Regions from separate parts of the Homo sapiens genome. Here region 2 is linked to region 1. Evidence: promoter capture Hi-C in human tissues and cell types (Jung and others, 2019). All regions are on one chromosome and are shown on one strand. The core of a region is centred on a gene start or on the middle of the fragment in contact, and the rest is flanking DNA. Distances in the headings are between cores, read along the strand shown. Region 1 holds the start of ADAMTS7 (ADAM metallopeptidase with thrombospondin type 1 motif 7). Region 2 overlaps SKIC8 (SKI8 subunit of superkiller complex).

What was found. The method cuts DNA at HindIII sites, captures the fragments that hold promoters and counts their contacts. A contact is called where the count stands out against the background at its distance.
Region 2: a fragment that was not itself captured here is called in contact with the fragment with the promoter of ADAMTS7 in region 1 in 1 of the 25 tissues and cell types used here (hippocampus).

What each region holds. Positions count from the first base shown.
Region 1 is chr15:78,809,597-78,812,713 of GRCh38, forward strand. It overlaps ADAMTS7 (ADAM metallopeptidase with thrombospondin type 1 motif 7), which reads right to left and starts at 1,868. Exons shown (of 24, transcript NM_014272.5): 1 at 1,525-1,868. The coding sequence starts at 1,624. RefSeq lists a silencer at 1,896-2,315. The HindIII fragment of the contact is 14,119 bases long and covers 1-3,117 here.
Region 2 is chr15:78,283,512-78,286,561 of GRCh38, forward strand. SKIC8 (SKI8 subunit of superkiller complex) reads right to left here. Exons shown (of 11, transcript NM_025234.3): 9 at 2,530-2,622; 10 at 1,750-1,828; 11 at 1-10. Among named protein-coding and RNA genes, the nearest start is that of SKIC8, 15 kb to the right of the region's middle. The HindIII fragment of the contact is 6,679 bases long and covers 1-3,050 here.

The sequences.
Region 1 (3,117 bases), core at 618-3,117:
CAATATCTCATTTAATCCTCATAAGAATCCCACGAGGTTGACCGCACCCAACTCTTCCCACAGCTGCCAGGGGGCCAGGACCCAAGTCCTGAGGGAAGCATTTTCCTGCTCTCCCATTCCCATCGCCCGGTTCATCCTCCTCAGCCCCCAGCTCTGGACAGTGGAAAACACAAGCCTCATTCAGGAAGCTCAGGAGTCCAACCCCACAGGTCGCTCTACTCTGAGCCTGTTTGCTGGTCCATAAAAGGACTTTCCATCACTTGCTTTGCACGGTTGTTGTGGAGATGATGAGAAATAAGAACCCGTGAGGCTGGCACACAGTAGGTGCTCATTAAATGTTCGCTCCCTCTGCGCTCTGCGCATGGCTGCTAGACCAAATCTTTCCAAAACACTGCTTTCATCAGCTGCTCCCCTCAACGGCTTCCCAAACCTCTAAGATCAAGAGTCAATGTCCCCATCCTTCCCGCCCAGACTACTTTCTCGTCACAATCCCTCCAGTGGGGAGGCAGGTCGACCCCATCCCAGCAAGCAACCCTAATCCAGTCCCCCGACTGATGCTCCCCAGGGGAGGGCCCCACTCCCTCCACGCCCTTCTAGCTCATCCAGAATCCATCCATCCTTCCAGTCTCTCCAACCTCATGCCCCTCCTCTCCTACAAAGCCTGCCGGTCGGCTCTATTGCAGGACTCTCCCCACTATCCACCGGCTCCCCTGACTGGGAGCTCCCTGAGCACCGGGCCTGGGGTCTCCTACATCCTCGGTTACTGAATTCCCAGGCCGGCTGCGTCGGACGCGCCAGCAGCGCGGCCGCCCGGCAGGTCGCCGCCAAACAAGAGTCTGGACGCAGGCCAGAGGCTCGTCGGAGGCCGGCCCGGCGGGGCGGGGAGAGTTAACCCATGGCCGGGAAAAGAAGCTCCTGCTCCCCGCTCCACTCCCGGCGTCTTCACACTTGGGGAAGGGAGAGGCAGGAAGTGCAAGGACCGCGCAAGACCCGGCCCCCCGAGCCGCCAGGGGCCGCGCCAGCAGCCCAGATGCGGTGGGCGGGAGCTGGGGGGGCGGCGGGGTCCCGCGAAGACCTGCGACCTGGCGCCCTCGCCGGCTGTGTCCCGGCCAGCCCGCTTTCCAGGCGAGCCTCGCTAAGGAGTGTGAGAAACCAAATCCTCAGTGGGTAAACCGCGCTCCGTCCAGCCCACTCGGACGAGAGCTCTCCCGGGAGCCAGGCGCGTTGCTGCACCCGAGGTGGGGAAACCGGAGCCCGAAGAGCGGAAGGGGCTTATTCCAGGCGACAGGCAGTGTCAGTAACTGAATCAGGGGCCGAGGAAGTTTCCCCAGAAGCGCGGCTTCGCTCCCGGCCCGGCCCGACCCCGACTACTGTCCCCTAATACCCAGGGAGCGGAAGACGCGACCAACTCCAGGCACAGCGGAGCCGGCGCGGGGTCCACAAAGGTGAGGAGGGACAAAACCGAGACTGGGGGAGCGGGAAGGGGTGGCAGGCCCGGCTGGCCGGGGAGGGGCGGACACCCACCTGGTGCGGGTCCGGGGGCGCCGGGAGCCAGAGCGCAGAGGAGCAGGAGGAGGGGGCGCAGCAAAGGCGCGGGGCTGCGGGGACTGGGGCCGCCGGGCATGGCAGGAACCGGGCGGCCGCCGGGTGACCCCGCGCGCACGCTCTCGTCCGTCCCGTCCGGTCGCTGCCTGGTCCCAGGTCCGGCTCAGGACATGCCCGGCCGGCGTGCAGCTCCCGGCGACCCGGCCCCGACTCCGTTCGGCTGCGCTCGGTCCGCGGGCAACAAAGGCTGCAGGGCCCGCCCCCTTGGCCGCTGCAGAGGCAAAGAAAAGACAAGAGAGCTAGAAGGAGAGAAAGAAAGAAAGAAAGAAAGGGAGGGAGAGTGAGGGAGGGCGGCTGCCGGCCCCCGCCCCGCCCCTCGGACTCCTTCCCCCGCCCCTGGCCCCGCCCCGCCCCGGCCGGCCCCGGCCTCATCGGCCCCGCAGGCCGTGCTCGCCTCAAGGGCTGGCCGGCCCGGCGCAGGCAGCGCCCCGCAACGGATGTCCGCCCCCCTCGCCCCCCTGTCCCGAGCGCCCCCTGCCGGCGGAGCCCTGCCAGGCCTTTCCGACCCCGGCCGGTTGAGGACCCCCGGAAAGAATCTGGAATTTCCAGAATTAATGTGTTGTCCCTAAATTGGGCTCCACGAGGTGCCCTTCGCTGTGTTCCCCAGGCCAAGCAGGGCAGCCCCTCAAAAGGGGACGCGGGAGGCCTCCAGAGGGCCACACCGGGGGCCCTGCTTCAAAGCTATCTGCGGAGACAGGCCTGGGCCCTCCCTGGACAGACAGCGGTTGCCCGCGCGAGGTGGGGCCCCGCAGTTCCTCGTCTCCTGACTCCTCTCCTAGTGCGTTTGCTTGAAGCAGAGCGCAGAGTTGAGCCCACAGGCGGGGGACCGCGGCTTCGCCCAGGCCAGCGCCCACAGACTTTCAGCAGGGGCTCCCGGGGAGCCTGGAGGCCGGCCAACCCCAGCCTCACATCCCAGGCCAGCCTCCGCCTCCAACACCGGCCGTCTGTCCTTCGTGGCCCCAGCCCTGGCTCTGGCTTCCGGCTCCCCTTCCCCCTGTGCTCCCAGGAGCTTCCTTTCTCCCTTCTGCCGTCACTAAACATGGCCCTGTACCGAGGACGCCCGTCTTGTCCTCGGGGCGGTTGCGGTCAGCTTCCTCCCCTTGGTTAGTCTTTGTGTGCCCCCTGCCCTCTGAGGCCCGCACACCTCCTCATTGTCCAATCTCCTGGGCCCTTTCATTCAATTCCTGGAAGCTCACTTCTGGCTTCCTCTCCACCCTCAACCTGTCTGTCCTCTAGGGAATTTGTGTAGTACAGGGTCACCTACTTCCTCCATCTCATCTCCAGTGACCTTCCACTCCACCTCAGCCATCAGGTCTCAGGGCCAAAGCCTGGGCTGTGTCATCCCTCAGAACTGCTCCATCTTGGAAATCCGAAGCTCAGGTGCCCCCCTGTCAGACCCGACTCTGCAGTCCTTTCCACCTTCACAGTCCCACTATGTATTGCTCTTCCTCCAGTCCCTTGATACCTTCCTCTTCGCCCAACCTACCAGCCCCTCCTGGCTTCACCTACTTC
Region 2 (3,050 bases), core at 353-2,852, 530 kb before region 1:
CTCCCCAGACCTGTAAATTTAAAAAAAGATAGTTCTACAAATGCCTTTATTCTTTATAATATTTATGAAATGAACATCCTTATTTTCTCGTTATTCTGAATCTACCAAAACTGAGATGAGGATGTTCTTGTACTTTCTAAATCAGTGAGAATGGAGGCTTTAACCGAGCACCTTCCATTATTGCTATTTAATTAGAATTCCTGCCCCTTCCCATACTCCAAAAAAAAAAAAAAAAATCATTTTTAAATACAGTACTAATCAAGACTATCTACAACCCTTTCAAAGAGTCAGAATCCTGAAGTGTAACCTAATGCCAGGAAGACGGAAGCCATAAGAGACCAACATTTATGCTTCCAGGAAGAAAGAGCCCCACAACTACCCCGAGGTCACTGCCTATAGGGAAAGTCACAAACTGCGCTCCTCAGCTGACCCCTTGTGTCCGCCCCCCACAGTCAGTAATTCTCACTCTGTTATTAGTGGCCTATGGAGCCTGCCTGTCCCCAGGAGCTAGACAACATGATATTGTGGACCATAGATTTTTATTTGCTATGTGTTAAATTAACTGATTCACACCTCCTTCCCAGACAGAATTGATGTGGTTGGAGTTTCTCTAATCATAAATAACTTCCTGATTATTAGGAGGTGATTCTGGGTGGTAAGCCTGTCACCCTACTCTGATTTTAGTGTTGGGATTGGGCTGCATGATGGCCTTTCACTCCAGCCTCTGACACAGCACCGCAATGATCCATACATACAAGGAAACACAGCTAGCCAGGACTTACTCCCTGAGTAAGATGCTTAAATCCAGAAGTGGAATATCAAGATAGAACCCCCTCAATTTTGTTGGGACAATTTAAGTTGAAAAATAAGCATGAACAATGTTAGTTAACTTTAAGTTCCATTTCAAAGAGGAGAAATCTATAGGACCATCTAAAAATATTTAAAATATATTAAAAGCCAATATTATATTGCCATGGACATTTTATTTTTTATGCTCAGTTCCCCAAGACCTTACAGTGTGGTTAGGACCAGCAGCCTTGGCCTCACCTGGAAGCCTGTTAGAAATGCAGAATCCCAGGCCCTCTGCCAGACCTAGTGAAGCAGCATCTGCATTTTCACCAGGTTCCCAGGGGATACGAGCACACATGAAAGACTCAGCAGTATTGCACTAGAACACCTTTGCTATTTCACATATTCACCTTGGCAAAGATAAAGTTGCTTGTGAGAACAGTTTCCTTTTAAAGACTGAAAAGTTATCAATAACACTAAAGCCAAAAAACTTGTATGAATTTCCAGCTTCTACTATATTAAAAAAAAAAAAATCACATCTCTTCTTTGGACAGTCCCAAAAATGACAAGCGATGATTGTGTTTAAGCAATGGAATCTCCTGAAGAGGAAGGTCCTTGGTGAGCCTGCCATGGCGCAGCAGCCCCCAGGAGAGGGCCCCAGACACCAGCTGCAGCAATTTCCAAAGACGGCATTTAAAGGCTGTGGGGCTAACACCATGTTTTCCAGCCTATGTGGGGATATGCCTCGTGAGTTGCTAGGCTGACAGCACATCCCAGCCTCTGCACCCCAGACTCTGCACAGGAACTCTGGCTACATGGATGACTGAGCAGATAGAGCAGCTCAGGCCCAGGCATCTACTGGTATCCACAGCTCAAGCAACAAGGTCAGGAAAAGAAAATCTCTTTGGTACAATGGTCAAACAACCCCGACTATCTAAAGATGAAATAATAATGCCATACCTGATCCTGGTGATCAAAGAAGGTGTGAACACAAGTCCTCGTTCCAACATCCCAAACTTTTACACTTTTGTCAGACGAACTATTTTAAAAAGTGAACATTAGTATCGGTTTGAAGTTGGAAGGACTTCGACCAAAAATCCTTTGATGACTTACATTCTTCTAACTTCAGACCCCCCAACCCCATGCCTCGGTACAGGAAATGGCCAGGTATCAGCATCATTGGGTGGCTTTCTCTCCTCACAGGGTAGCCATTTTCCTGAAATTGTGATCTGCCTGGCCCTCATATTAATTGTTCTCCAGGAGTCTCAGACACAGCTACCTATTTCCAGATGGGAGGGAGGCCTGTTAAAGCTTCAAAACCAAGGCTCGCAGGAGGCCTCTAAAGCACTGTGCAATGCCTTCAAGTTGTCCATCTCCTGCTTTCCAACTGTCTTGGCCATCCCAGGCCTGACCAACACTGGGATCTATAAACAACATTTTACAAACATTTACATATTTTAAGTTACCATTGGAACACAAGTCTACCTTAGAGTCACTTTGGTAGAAGCCTCAATTTATAATGAAAAAACTAAGAGTTTTACTGTTTAAAAGGATTACTTGTTGACTTTTGTTCCAGCTAAGGTCAACTAACATCACTAAATAAAAATTTTAAGAACTGCAGAAAAGAAAGGCTAACTGAATAAAAAAGGGTCAAACATCTTTAAATGTTAAGGCAATCTATACAAGAAGACTGCTCTCATCTCCCCAGCATTTTAGAAACTGCTAAGAATCATTAAGTACCTGGAAACAAAGTGAGTGTCATCAGGACAGAATGCAACGTTCAGCACCCAGGAGGCATGGCCGCTCAGCGTGCCAGCCAAATTGGCATGTTGTCTGAAATGGGAAAGTTTCAAACAAAATTGAGATGTTAATTTCTACAGTATAATCACTGAAGTGGAAAGTATATTATTAACTCTGCCAATAAGCTGGACCAAATCTGCTATCCTTATAATGACCATGAATACTATATCAAAAATTCCTCTTTCAATGAAGTAGCTTCATGCATTAGAGACAAATTTTAATAGTAGCATTAACCCATAATGTGTTGACACCACCAAAAGCCAAGAATAAAATCCTTCACAAGCAAAGAGCTGAAGCTCAAAATGAACAAAGAACCACACTACAGAGGCTTCGCAAGCCAACCCCTCAGATGAGGAAATTGAGAACCAACGGGGCAAGGAAGCCATCTGAGGAGAAGGGCAGGTTCAGACTCCTGCCTGCACCAGCAGCCTTTCCGTATGGGGCCAGTGCTCCCAGTCCAA